Regions from separate parts of the Homo sapiens genome. Here regions 2, 3, 4 and 5 are each linked to region 1. Evidence: promoter capture Hi-C in 16 types of primary human blood cells and fetal thymus (Javierre and others, 2016). All regions are on one chromosome and are shown on one strand. The core of a region is centred on a gene start or on the middle of the fragment in contact, and the rest is flanking DNA. Distances in the headings are between cores, read along the strand shown.

The links. The method cuts DNA at HindIII sites, captures the fragments that hold promoters and counts their contacts. A CHiCAGO score of 5 or more calls a contact.
Region 2: a contact is called between the fragment with the promoter of ALKBH1 here and the fragment with the promoter of RBM25 in region 1, in 1 of 17 cell types (non-activated CD4 T cells). The highest score is 5.1, in non-activated CD4 T cells.
Region 3: the fragment with the promoter of CIPC here is called in contact with the fragment with the promoter of RBM25 in region 1 in 2 of 17 cell types (non-activated CD4 T cells and total CD4 T cells); the score reaches 7.4 in non-activated CD4 T cells.
Region 4: a contact is called between the fragment with the promoter of ERH here and the fragment with the promoter of RBM25 in region 1, in 3 of 17 cell types (naive CD4 T cells, non-activated CD4 T cells and total CD8 T cells). The highest score is 12.6, in naive CD4 T cells.
Region 5: a fragment that was not itself captured here is called in contact with the fragment with the promoter of RBM25 in region 1 in 1 of 17 cell types (naive CD4 T cells); the score reaches 6.0 in naive CD4 T cells.

The regions. Positions count from the first base shown.
Region 1 is chr14:73,057,233-73,059,869 of GRCh38, reverse strand. It overlaps RBM25 (RNA binding motif protein 25), which reads right to left and starts at 1,336. Exons shown (of 19, transcript NM_021239.3): 1 at 1,165-1,336. RBM25-AS1 (RBM25 antisense RNA 1) reads left to right here and starts at 417. Exons shown (of 2, transcript NR_184256.1): 1 at 417-594; 2 at 1,113-2,637. RefSeq lists enhancers at 1,232-1,771, 824-2,023, 1,095-2,059. The HindIII fragment of the contact is 1,744 bases long and covers 44-1,787 here.
Region 2 is chr14:77,706,724-77,709,360 of GRCh38, reverse strand. It overlaps ALKBH1 (alkB homolog 1, histone H2A dioxygenase), which reads left to right and starts at 1,338. Exons shown (of 6, transcript NM_006020.3): 1 at 1,338-1,539. The coding sequence starts at 1,357. It overlaps SLIRP (SRA stem-loop interacting RNA binding protein), which reads right to left and starts at 1,258. Exons shown (of 4, transcript NM_031210.6): 1 at 1,153-1,258. The coding sequence starts at 1,249. RefSeq lists an enhancer at 1,375-1,704. The HindIII fragment of the contact is 1,367 bases long and covers 1,099-2,465 here.
Region 3 is chr14:77,096,955-77,099,591 of GRCh38, reverse strand. CIPC (CLOCK interacting pacemaker) reads right to left here and starts at 1,334. Exons shown (of 4, transcript NM_033426.3): 1 at 1,231-1,334. It overlaps LOC124903350 (a long non-coding RNA gene), which reads left to right and starts at 1,574. Exons shown (of 2, transcript XR_007064275.1): 1 at 1,574-1,716. RefSeq lists enhancers at 564-723, 863-1,692, 2,054-2,103 and a silencer at 1,724-1,873. The HindIII fragment of the contact is 10,027 bases long and covers 1-2,637 here.
Region 4 is chr14:69,396,966-69,399,602 of GRCh38, reverse strand. It overlaps ERH (ERH mRNA splicing and mitosis factor), which reads left to right and starts at 1,304. Exons shown (of 4, transcript NM_004450.3): 1 at 1,304-1,372. The coding sequence starts at 1,370. It overlaps SLC39A9 (solute carrier family 39 member 9), which reads right to left and starts at 911. Exons shown (of 7, transcript NM_018375.5): 1 at 138-911. The coding sequence starts at 233. RefSeq lists enhancers at 619-958, 1-1,086, 1,288-1,795, 1,796-2,304 and a silencer at 1,055-1,295. The HindIII fragment of the contact is 2,829 bases long and covers 1,136-2,637 here.
Region 5 is chr14:69,767,694-69,770,330 of GRCh38, reverse strand. It overlaps SRSF5 (serine and arginine rich splicing factor 5), which reads right to left. Exons shown (of 8, transcript NM_001320214.2): 2 at 2,049-2,193; 3 at 1,657-1,727; 4 at 1,435-1,533; 5 at 1,080-1,149. The coding sequence starts at 2,174. It overlaps LOC100289511 (a long non-coding RNA gene), which reads left to right and starts at 2,618. Exons shown (of 1, transcript NR_029378.1): 1 at 2,618-2,637. RefSeq lists enhancers at 2,263-2,312, 2,309-2,637. The HindIII fragment of the contact is 6,506 bases long and covers 1-2,637 here.

The DNA.
Region 1 (2,637 bases), core at 87-2,586:
TACTACTATAAATTCATTTTACAGAGGAACAAAAACCAAAGCTTAAAAGAAAAAAGAAAAAGAAAAACCAAGGCTTTAAGTTAAATGAATTAGAATACTATAAGATTCACTTGAATCATGAGTAACTTATGACCAACTTAATCCCTTTCAAGTCCTCTGAATGTTTTTGGAAATAGCCTTTAAAAAAATTAAAAGCTCCAAAGACTATACAAAAATTATTTATACATTACTGCCCACGGCCTAATACACAGAGTACTTCACACTAATACAGCAGTAGGGTGCAACAGAGGTCCAATCTCTTCCCTTCTCTTGGCTCCACTCTGCCCAGTATCAAAATGGCATTTCCATGGCAATACAAATCCATATTACATAACCTCCGAAAAATCTTCATAGTCCTACGTCTATTCCGGAAAACCGTATTTAAAAGCAGGATTGACGACCAAAGAAAAATGAGAAAGTAACATTTTAATGTGGAGCTTAGTAATCGCCTAGAATGAATGGCGATATACAGTTTACTGCACCCTCCAATGCGCAAAAGAGGCAGGATGGCAAAATTCATGACTATCTTAAGCAAGCCAGGAGACTGCTAAAAAGGTAGGTATTAGCTCAATTCCAAGGGGGTGGGGCCCAGTTCACTTGGTGGCGGGCTCTAGATGGCCAAAGAGGAAGGGAAAGATATCCGTTGGTGGCCAGCACCTCGCTAAAAAGGGTGGGTAGAGGCTAACTTCAAGGCAACGGCTGGGGCGAGAGTGTCCCAGGCCCGAAAACCTACTGTGGGGCTCCGGTAAGTAAGGGGGCTCAGGGAAGGGCTCCCCTGGGGCAGATCGATCGTTTTGTATCTAACGTGGAGCCCAGGGGGGGCAGAGACGATTCACTCCGCGGCGGAACGTGGAAGGGAAAGGGAAAGTGGGCGACAATGCAAGACGGAAAGCTCAAGCCGTAGGTCTGGCCTCCACCAGCTACGGCTGGGCCCACAGCTTTTCCAGGCCTTAGAGAAGAGAAGAAACCAAGCCTCGTGCCGACCCCTCCCCCACCCCCGCCTCCGCGCTCCCCCTTACCTCTACCCCACCCTGGCGCTTTCGCAGCCACCCCGGCTTTTCCTCCTCCACCAGCTGAGGCACCCGGTCTCCCGGTTTCCACACGCGTTCAGAGACACAAACTCACCCGCCGCTGAGGAAACGGTACTGCCTTCGCGACCTTCTGGGATCCAGGTTACGAGTGCGCTCCACTGGTTCGAGATTTCTGCCCGTCGCTCGCCAGGGAGACTGAGTGCCCAAGCGCCTACTCGCACAGGCCGCAAATACAGCCGCGCTGCGCGGCGAGCTGATGGAGGTCTTCCTCTTGCCCGGCGTGCACTGCGGCCGGGGGCGGGGAGCGCGGAACCATAGAGAAGAACGTATATAGATCGTCTCCGCTGTTGGCTCTGACTCACCAAGCCGAGACGAATAACCATAGAGAAGCAGCGTCTAGCGGTTACTAGAAAGGCCCGAACTGTAAATTATGACCCACCATGTTTGATTGGAGCCGACTGAATCTTACGACTACGGGACGCCATCTTGAGGTCAAGGTTCCGGCTGGGCACGGCGCGAGGAGTGTTAGAGGCTTTCTCACTTTTCGTAGTTTTTCGGGGGGTGGAACCTTGCTTTGTGATTCCTTGAGGTTCGAGGAACTGATAACTGGGCGCGATCTGCAACCTTAGTGTTAAACCCCAAGTGCTGTTATAACAACTACTCGAGATCAACAAATAATTGGCAAAGGCTGTGGAGGTTTTTTGAAAAGCAAAAGCTTATGCGTAGTTGTAGGGCCAAAGAGGTGGCTAGAAGATGTTTGGAAAAACGTGAAAAGTCCTGTAATACTAGTTAACACAGCTTTCGTTCTGTAATCTAAACGTGCTAAAAGAACTTAGCTTAAGTTAATGGAAATGAATAAAATTAATCATAAATGATTACGTTATTCCAATTGTGGACCTTATAGGCAATATCTAGTTACACGCCTTTCTCAACTGCTTGCCTCTAGGAAGGCATAAAACGGATTCAGTATAAAGTTATTGCCTCCCTGAGTTCCTGGTGCTGTGTTAAGTGCTGGAAGTATGAAGGCAAATGGAAGTGAGATTTGTTCCTGTCCTGCAAGAACTGTGAGCCAGGTGAAATAGATGACAAACCATGACCAGCCTAATATAAAATTGAAACATACTACACACTTCCTGCCTGCCTCCCCTACTTAATTTTACTCTAAAGCACTCATAACCATCTATCATAACATACATTTTTCTTGCTGATTTTATGGTCCGTCACTACCCCCACTAGAATGTGAATGTAAGCAATGCATGGATTGCCTGTTTTGTGCAAGAACAGGTCCTGGTACATAGCAAGCGCTCAATAAATATTTGTTGAGTGACAGAAATGATTACCGGCCGGGCGCGGTGGCTCACGCCTGTAACCCCAGCACTTTGGGAGGCCGAGGCGGGTGGATCACCTGAGGTTAGGAGTTCGAGGCCACCCTGGCCAACATGGCAAAACCCCGTCTCTACTGAAAATACAAAAATAAACTAGGCGTGGTGGCAGGCGCCTGTAATCCCAGCTACTCGGGAGGCTGAGGCAGGAGAATCGCTTGAACCCTGGAGGCGGAGGTTGCAGT
Region 2 (2,637 bases), core at 89-2,588, 4.6 Mb before region 1:
ACTACTCACATCTGAGCCACTAAAAACTTAGAAGAAACTAAATCTTGCTCCATTTTGTTTCCAGGGGTTGACCTGAAACATGAATATCTACAAAAAGAGTGACCACGAATGTTTACATGTTGGTAAGCAAATATAAAAACCTCATCTCAAAACTGCAGCTGACAAAAATTGAAGGTGGTGAAAGATTTCAGAACTAATTATTCCAACCTTTATCTGTAGACTAGGCCTCTCCCGTAAGTTTCAATTTTAGTTACCGTGAAAATAACTATCATTTGCTGAGTACTTACACTGTATCTAACACAAGTCTAAGAAGTTTGCATATAAACTCAATCCTCTCAACAATCCTATGAGTTGGGTATTATTGACTCCATTTTATCGATGAGTAAACTGAGGCCCAGTTGTGAGCCCTTTTCCCATACTAACTTCAGTTATTCAAGTGATAACAACGATTAAATGGCCAAGTTGGAATTCTAACCCCAACGGTCTAGCTTCGGAGTCCACTTCTCAGCCACAATGATATACAACCTTTGTCCAATTGCCTGACGGAAACCTCACAAGTTTCTCAAAGTCAACACATTCAAACTTTACTCATCTTCTCTTGGCCTGCTCCTAACTTCTAAACAAACAATTCACCAATGCTAAAAACCCAGAAATCATTTCTCCCTTTCCTTTATTCCGTACACTTCTCCCACTTAAGCCATCACGAAACGGCATCTAATTTGCTTTTAAAACATTAATGCATCTGACCACCATCCTTCTACCATCGCCCTAATTCAGGTCCTCACGTTTTAAGTAAATTAATGAAATTGCCTTTTAGCTCCTCTGCACGCCTACAATCTTGCCACCTTGAATCCATCCTCCACACTACAGTCAAAATTATCCCTTCTAAATTGTAAATCTTGGTTACCAAGTAATAAATCTTTACACCAAATCACTCCTAAAGGCAAGAGCCGGTGCATTCGTGACCCCAAAAGCTCAAGGGACATCCCTAAACGGTTAACTGCAAACAAAATTTCTTTCTGCTCACTTGCATGCTCAGGAGCAGTCTCCTAATTCAGCCACCACGCTGACTTAAGTACCCTGCAAAAAGCAGAAGCTTTGAGGATCACTTGGACCTAAAAATTCCACTACTCCCACATCTCCATCACTCACTCGACGCCGCAGTCCAAGGAATTCTTCTCACAAAAGCAACCGGCTGATTGATACTTCTACGCAGCGCCGCAGCACCTCTCGCTGCTGAGGCCGCCATCTTCAGACTAAAGCACCTTCTCGAGCCGAGGTCGCGGCCCCGGAAAAAATTTCCGGATCCGGAACACGAGAGAATCTGCTTCCGGATCAGAGGGTATAGGCCGCGAGATGGGGAAGATGGCAGCGGCCGTGGGCTCTGTGGCGACTCTGGCGACTGAGCCCGGGGAGGACGCCTTTCGGAAACTTTTCCGCTTCTACCGTCAGAGCCGGCCCGGGACCGCAGACCTGGAAGGGGTCATCGACTTCTCGGCGGCCCACGCAGCCCGTGGCAAGGGTCCTGGTGCCCAAAAGGTACAGAGAGAGGAGTGGCGCGCGTCTCTCCATCGCTTTGCCCCGCGTCTTGGAGGGACTTACGTGTCTTCTTCGCCTCTTTTCACCTCCAGACCGATTGTTATTGAACGATTCCTGACCTCCTTTGGCTGCAGAGTCGAACTCCCCACTAACCGTCACACTTAGCAATAAAGCGTTGAGATGCCTGTTTCTTTAGGCGGCCATTCCTGGCGGGGGCGCTCAGTCAAAAGAGCCTGGGAATCCGTGTTTATTTCTTACTGTAACTGTCTCCTCACATTTCTGTTTGGGTTTTTGTAAAACCCCATAGAACGTCTTTGTAGACGGTAGGGTAGACTTCTGCAGCTTAAAAAAAACCACTCCCGAGGAATCCCAGAACTGACAGGGATGCGGCGCTGTTTGTTAAGCCACTGTGCGTAAAACTAGTCCCTGTCTTCTCCTCTGGCTCTTTTAGAAGGAGGTCATTGAAGGATTCTGAGAATCCCTCCGTGTTGAAAATAAATGGCAAACAAGTATATATGGAATACAGGCACCGTTCTCTCTCTCAGCTTTTCCCCATGGAGATTAAGAAGGGGAACACAGTCCGGGAGCGGTGGCTCAAGCCTGTAATCCCGCACTTCGGAGGCCGAGGCGGGTGGATCGCTTGAACCCAGGGGTTCGAGACCAGCCTGGGGCATGGCAAGACCCCCGTTTCCGCCAAAAATACAAAAAATTAGCCAGTCTCATAACCTGTTCTCAAGTAAATAGATTTTTTAAAAATTATTTTTTTAAGGGAACATAACAGGCAAGAGGGAAAACGGGGAACCAAAACTGTAGTCCAATTTATATTTTCTTTCTTTACAATCCACTTTAACGTTGAGGATATGCAGTCCCTTAATTTGCTCTTGGTGTTGTCCACAGATGTCTAGATGAGGCATTCTTTCCAAGCTTCCTAACAGCTCTGATAAAATTGGGATGCTACAGTATTAAGTGTTAATGATTGCATACTTGAGCTCAGCTTTTCAGCACCTTCATTTGTTAGGGAAAAAAAGTGGTCTTAGAGTTGTCAAAATACAGAAAGTCCACACCCCAATAATAATATACTTTTTCTCTCCAGAGCGC
Region 3 (2,637 bases), core at 85-2,584, 4.0 Mb before region 1:
GCTTAAATACAATAAAGTGATAAGGTCACAGAAAGAAAACCTTGAGTAATCCCCGTTAGAATTATAAATACATTACTAGCTTTTCTCCGAAGTCATTTTCTTTTGGCCTGCATATTCAGGGATACCATTCTGGGAGAATGTCTGGGTATCTTAACAGTGGAAAAACCCTGTCTACCTAAATGTCTAATATTCATCTTCCCTTCCACATTCATTCCATTTCTCCAACTTGGCTGAAAATTCGTGTCAAAGATCCTGAACCCCAATTCCATACAATTTCCTATGTTTTAGACCAGTTTGGCTCTATTTTCACCTTTCAAAGGGGAGATGAGCTTAGAGAACTTTCTCCGATCCCCTGCTGCAATTAGTTCACAGTAACAGTGCCCACCTACCCATTCGCACCAGCCCACGTTGCATCTGTGCCAGGCAGCATGTGCACCCTCCAGGCATCCACCAGCCTGCCAGCTCAGCAGGGCAAAACTGGGCAGACCCTAGTACTGTGCTGTGACTGGCATACCACCAGCCTTCCAGGGCAAACGCCCAGGCAATGCATACTGCCAGGACTTGAGCAATAACAGGGAGCCTAGCTCCAGCCTGTGACCTGGGCCGGGATCAGAGCTCCCCCGAACCCACCCACTAACCACTTAACTCCTTACTTGGCACTGCCCACCTTCTCCCCAGAAACACTACCCCCGACACCAAGCCTGGCAAGCTGGCCACTCAGGGGAAACAACCAGCAACGAGGGTGACGGCAGGTCTCTGGAAAAGGCAGCACACCTGTGCCCTGGAGCCAGAACAGGGTACCACCCCCGACCTCAAACCGGAAGCCCAGGACCCTCGCCCAGTTACTAGTTCTGGCGCCCACTCACCTGCCCATTGCTTGGCCCTCAGCTCCCAGCCGGGCTGGACTCCAAGCTCTCTCCCCGCCCAGCCGGCTGGCGGTTGCGCCCAGGGCTAGACCAGGGCCCACCTGCCCCTCACACAAGCCTCCTCCCCACACGCAGCCCCCTCCTCACCCGCGATTCCCTCTCCCACGCCCCTCACAGCAAACCAAAGCCCTGCTCCCACCATTTGGCTCTCCGTCCTCCGAAAGTCCCGGTTTGCCCCTCTTGCCTACTCGCTCCTCTTCCTCTCTCCCCTACTTCCACCTCCTTTCCCCACGCTCCTCGCCCAATCCCTCTCCCGCCGTCATCCCTGCTCCCCTCCTCCCGGACCGAGCCCTCCCTTTCTCACCTAGGGCCGGGGTCGCAGCTCCACGACCGGCCTGTGGGTCAGGTGGCGCATGCGCGAGCACGGCCCCGCGGCACCATGACAACCTCGTCGTCGCTGGGTGTCTCGCTATCCCCACAGCCTCCCGCCCATTTCTCCTCCCCACGCCTCCGCGACGGCTTTCGCCAGCCACGTGACCCGACTCGGATGACCCGGCACCATGGAGACCGCACGCTGTTCTCCTAGAAGGGCCCTTGGAAATGCGCCCTTTCCCCGCCCCCGCCGGAAGACCAGGCCGGCGCGGGGCGGGGCCAGCGCTCAGAGGCCTACGCTCTGTCCGCGGCCGGCGGGCGTCTCTATGGTTGGTTCCTCAGGCCTCGCCGCCATTTTGTACGGGGGCCTTGAGCAATGAGCGGCTTGGGCAAGGTTTCCAGGCGGGGTTCAGAGGAGCCGGGGGTGGGGCCGGCTTGGAGTCGATACAGAGAGAGGAGCGACTCTCGCACTGTCTTGGTGCGTGCCGCCGTGCCGCCGTGCCGCCGTTGGGGGTGGGGGCCGGGGCGAGTCGTGTCCGGCCTGTGCGCGTGCCGGGAGCGACAGTGCCCGGCGTGGGAGAGCGGGCGTGCGGGCGGCCTCAGCCTGGAGTCGCCGTGACAGGGGTGCCAGACCTCCCCGCGTGCTCCTCGCATTTTCTCTACGCCTGTCGCCCTGTTTGTTTTTTGTTCCCGTCCACCCTCGAGACCGTGCTTCACGAGGTCGAGGCGCGATGAGTTATTTTAAGTAGATGATTTCATGACCTTTGATGTTTGACTGACTTTGTCATGTGCTATGGGTTTTATATGGATGCTGTTTCTTGGTGAAGGTTCACGGTGAACACACGTGTGTAACAGCTAAAGAAAAAAAGGGCTTGGGATCAGTTGACGTTCTGATGCCTTGAATCAGTGAAGGTTACTTAGAAAAAGAATTATTTCGCTAGTGAAAAAGAGGACATGGGCGAGTTTAAAGAGTTGACGGGTCGAGGCAGATTCAAGAGCTGAGCTGTCCAGTAAGATGGTCACTAACGACTGGATAAGTTTCTCAGTTGTACTAGCCACATTTCAGGAGCTCAGTGACCTCTTTATTGGACAGTGCAGATTATATATAGCCCATTCCCAGCATCGCAGAAAGTTATATTGGACAGTGCTGATTTAGATAGTGGGGAATTGTTTTATACTGGTCATCCAGGCCTTTGTAAGTGCTGCTAGGTCGTGGTTAATCACGTTAGTCCTCTAGACACAGGTAATTCTAATGTATTACTGGGTATGGGTGTACTTGTTAGTAGTCAGCTTTACCAACAAGTAATATGCCTACACCATGTAAGGCTTTTGTTTTGGGGACAGAGTGAAAGCAATAGTTAACAATTACCAAGTAATTAGGAGCCGGGCCGCTTTATAT
Region 4 (2,637 bases), core at 55-2,554, 3.7 Mb after region 1:
TATCTTTTAAAAAAGATAGTCTTTCTTAATGAGACCTTCAGCTTTGAGATTTAACTAGGGAAGCAGCTTCCCTTTGCAACTAAAACTACTATCTCACAGCCATCCTGACAGCTGACAGAAAATTGAGAATTTCTTACCTCTGAGAAATTAACAGCCAAGGGAATGATTCCGGCCACGTAACATCCCACCAACATAGCCAGAGACAGCAGGCTAATGGAGATGAAATCATCCATTCTGCCCTCCTTTATTCACCCACAACCACTAGACAACAAATTTCCAGTGGCTTTAAATGGTGCTTAGGTTCTTTAAACAGGTGTGGTGGTTCCAAGAGAGTGGGCTTTCCAGTTCTTTAGGCCTTCCCACCAGCAGATGTGTTCACGAGGCACCTTCCTCTTGAACGTACCCGGCAACAGACCCTTTTTGCTGATATTAGCACCAGAGAAAGCTTACAGCAATCTAAGGTCCCAGGCTCTGGGTTCTCAGATGCCAGTCATTAGATTCTCGTGGGTTAACAGAGATGGGAAAAGTCAATGGGGAAAATGTGCGAATGATCGATTTCTTCGATTGTCGGATTGAGGGTGGCACAATGTCTTAGGCGGCGGCGGGTAAGTGACTCAAGCGAACCTGTTCGTTCCCTAGGCGCCCCTGTCTCCAAGAGGCGGCCCCGAAGGTGATCCGCCCCCCAGAGCAGGAAACCAGCCCACCAGTCCCAGCAAACTCTCCTCCGAGCCTGGGATGAGGAAAGGAGTCCTGCAGGTCTCTAACGATGGGTCCTAGGGGTTCAGCAGCAAAGTTGACACAAAGCTGTCTCTGCCCTATACCCGGTGCTGCCCATGGTACTGCACTCGACCGGGCCTTGACCCGGAGTCGCCGATACTACAGCTGCCATGGCCGCCAAGTGGCATCTCTTCATTCCATCCACTTCCGGATTGTCTAACCACCCCCTCCTTTACAAAGGCACTTCCGGGTTACAACCGACCTCCGGCCCAGGATACTTACGTTGCCGCCATTTTTGAGTAGGGCTAATGAAAGATGTCTGATGTCACTGTCTATACCGGTGATCACTTGAGCCGTATGTTTAATAACGAAAGTACGGAAGACAGCGTCTTGAAAAAAAATAATTCTTCCTAAAGCTTGGAAACTTTCCCTTACCTTTTTGCCTTTATCGAAGATGGCTGAAACAGAGTCAGTAGCTGCTCTAGCTGCCGGAAGTGACTGTGCCTCTATGATCCAAAAGGCTCTTTTGCGTTGCACTTTCGACGACTTCCGGCGGCTCCTCTCGCGAGGATTGGCTGTTAGCGGCGTTGTAGTTAAGCTCGTGTAACGGCGGCGGTGTCGGCAGCTGCTGTAGCGAAGAGAGTTTGGCGCGATGGTGAGAAAGGCCTCCGCGGCTACCCGAGTCCGAGTCCCCGGCCTCCAGAGCGACCCCAGCCCCATACGTTTTCCCCTCCCCACGAGCCCCATGCAGCGCCGCGTGATGCTCCCCGCCACTCTAGTCGGTGGATTGACCCTTCTTCCCGCCGCAGGGACGCCAGGCCTGACTCTAGGCCTCGGAGCCCCGGTCCGCCCTGCGGTTGCGCGCCCGCCTGCTCGCTCGGGTCCGGCGTGCCTTGGGCCTGAGGATGAACTCTCTCCCGATTGTTACTCGGTAGAGGGAGACGTGGGGGAGGTGTTTTGTTTTTTGAGATAGAGAGTCTCACTCTATCGCCCAGGCTGGAGTGCAGTGGCGGGATCTCAGACCCCTGCAACCTCTGCCTCCTGGGTTGAAGCAATTCTCCTGTCTCAGCCTCCCTAGTAGCTGGGATTACAGGCGCCCGCCACCTCGCTCGGCTAATTTTTTTATTTTAGCAGAGACGGCGTTTCACCATGTTGGCCAGGCTGGTCTCGAACTCCTGACCTCAAGCAATCCACCCGCCTCGGCATCCCAAAGTGCTGGGATTACAGGCGTGAGCCACCGGGCCCTGCCGGATATGGTATTTTTCCCTCCAAATGCTCTAGCCTGCTGTAGGAACAATGGGCCAGGGTTGTCTAACTATTCTCGAAGCTGACAGATCCAGCTATACCCAGCATGTGGGCCAGGAGAGGACGTATTTGCTTTGCAGTGTTTTTTCAGCTTTCGTTTTCCTGTGCTCTGCCTTTTTTTTTTTTTTCCTGTTTTTGAGACCTCTAGGTATTGCGTGTGGCGCGTCCCTCAGCCCTCGATCCTGTACTTATCTGTATTTATATCCTCTTGGGGCTGGAGGCTGAAAAGTAGGCTCAGCTCAGAGACCAGCTCTATTAGAACCCAACCGGGATGATCAGTAAGCTCCAATTCGAAGAAAGTGACCAAAACTGGCTTGAGAGGTGGTATAATCTGTAAAGAATTTGAGCAGGAAAGCATTGCCATTTAAAAATGATAACCACTTGACCACAGTTTTTAAAATGTATCATGTTATGTTCTTAGTGATTTTTAATCCTTGTCTTTGGGCAGTAAGTACTGAAAATAGTAAACTTTGCCCGGTGTTCATTTTAAGACTAGATATAAAAAGCAACATGCTGTATAGCTTTTTCCATTCTTACCCTTTCAAATTAGTCCTTTAATTTGCATTAGAATTGGAATACAATTATTATAGTAGCAGTTGAGATAGCTAGTGTATA
Region 5 (2,637 bases), core at 65-2,564, 3.3 Mb after region 1:
TCTATCAGAATTCAAAAATTATCTATGTCAGGGCACGGAATAAGCAAATAGCATATTGCTTTTAAGCAAAATGCTAAAAGAAATTCAGATTTTAACATTAAGGTAGTATTAGTCTATGCTGAGCTCAGTACAAAAGAAAAAAAAACAAACAAAAAAACAACAAAAAAGGAAACAGTACATATTTTTAAAGTAAAGACTAAAGTAGAGAAGTTTTATTTAAAAAAACAGAACATTTACAAGACACCAGTTATTTTGTGCCCCATATGTCATTAAAAAAGTTTACTTTACCTTTATTATTATTTCCCTAGGCTAGTCAAGCAGCAAACCATTAATCGGTCGGAGAAACCTTCATGACATATGCCCGACTGGCTCTTCGCCACCCACTTGAAGGACACTACCCAATCGATGGAAGCCTTTAATCGCACAGCCCTCCCTATTAGCGGACTATTGGCGGATGCAGACATGTTCTACTCGAGCAGTTACCAAGGACCACTTTACTGCGATCAGGATTCCAACGACCACCTAATTTCGTATCTTTCAACTCTTTTCGACCGGACCTCTTATTCGGAAGCGTTACAGGAAGACAGGTCTCAACTTAGGGATCAGATCACGTTATCAACGCTCTGGGATCGCTGCAACCTGGCACTTCAAGGAAGTGCACCGATAACGTCTAGACCGGCAAACACAGATCTAGAGGTGGCCAACTGATCACTGTAGGAGCTGACTGGCAAAGTCAACCAGGCCCAACCAAGAGTGACCAAGACAACGATTAGGATAACCCACAGGCACTCCTCGTCATAAGGCCAACGACACAGACAGGCTGGCAAATAAAGGGTTTAATATTTGGTTAAAAATTGATTTTAAAAAACAAGAAAAATATCCTCAAAACATTTACATTTGATCACTAATATTAAAGTTCAAAATATCCCCCAAATTACATTTAATTAAATGTTTAAAATTACAATTCCATTAAATCCATTAATTTAAAACTACTTTTAATAAAACAATACAACATTAGCTACCCATTAACTTTTTTAAAAAGCCACATCAAAATAACTCAAAACTGTATTTCAACAAACCTGCCAGCTGACTCTTGAGGATAAATTCTCAACTATAAGACGATTTTCTGTTCTTACAGGTGGAGCATTTCTGAGGAAGAAAATTCGTATTCACAATGGAAGAAATGCAATGACAGCACTTGTGTTCAACTGTGGGCAAGTTCAAGCCATCAGATATCACAAGCCATTCTAATGACTTCCGTCAATAGATTTGTGTTCTATGACTCATATAGATTCATCAAGAACAACTGGCTAACGTGGGAATAGAAGAACAGATTATACGGCAGGACCCAAAATCATCACTGCTAATGACTCCTGAATCTTAAATGCTACCCCTACAATAATTGTTCAATGCAGCCATCCACCCTTCACATACCGTCTATCATTTCGAGGTCTGCGACTACTAAAACGGTCAGAGTATCGTCCTCTACCTCTTCCACCTCGTGACCGAGCCCTAGCATGTTCAATAGTAACCCTACAAAAAGGGAAGAAAAATCTCCGTTACACACTTAAGCTACATAAATCTACTTAGAAAAATATGCCAGCAGACCCAGTCTGCTCTATGTCCCAGGGTTATCTAGTTACACAGGAATCTCACCTTTCACTACAGAGTTCTTTTCCATCAAGCTCATACACAGCATCATCTGCATCCCTTGGATCCTCAAATTCCTAAAATGTAAGCATAAGACTCTTAACATTGGCTTTAGAAGAGTATTCTACAACACATTAAGAGCACTGAAATCAGGAGACAGAATGGGAAGAGTATCTTAACGACACTGCCATACAGTCAAACCTAATCAAGGAGCCACTGGGAGTGGGGTTCCAGTGAGCCGGCAAGTTAAAGTTGTTTTCAGCCTCAATAAAATTCAGACATAAGGCTGGGTAACATTTTCTGAAGGCAAATATTCCACCCGGACTCAAGATCGAAAACAACTGCTTATCAAAACTCTACCTACTTAGCAGATAATTCACCCAGTTCTAAATACTTACCACAAAACCAAAGCCTCTTTTCAGATCAATATCTCTTATCCGTCCATATCCCTTGAAGAATCTTTCCACGTCCTTCTCCCTGGCCGCTGGATTTAGTCTCCCGATGAATACCCGACAGCCACTCATGATGTCCGGCTAGTACTTCCTATTAGAAAGTAATTCAATCGAGATAATAGCAATGACTGTCACAGAGAAACGCCTGATTAAACAATCAAAAACATCAACGGCATAAAATGTTTACACAGTGATGTTATGAACGAGATTGCCAACAGAGCCTCTAATGAGGCCAGGTTACCTGCAGACAAAATGAAAACCCAGCTCCCTCCCAACACGGTCCGCTACTGGGCCCAGACCGCAGCAACCGCAACGCCCACTGCCACCTTTCCAACTGCGCAGCCGCACACTCTCCGGGCTCTCCGGCCCCCTCCCATCTGCCGCAGTTAGGAAAGGCCGAGAAGTGCGGGCGGAGCCGCCCGCGCCCTCCGCAAAGCCAGCCCAATGGCGGCCTCGCGGGCGCGTCACAGCGGGTGGAAGCCAGAATCTCGCGACGCCTCGACCGCGCCTGCGCCAACAGCAGCGGGCGGGCGCT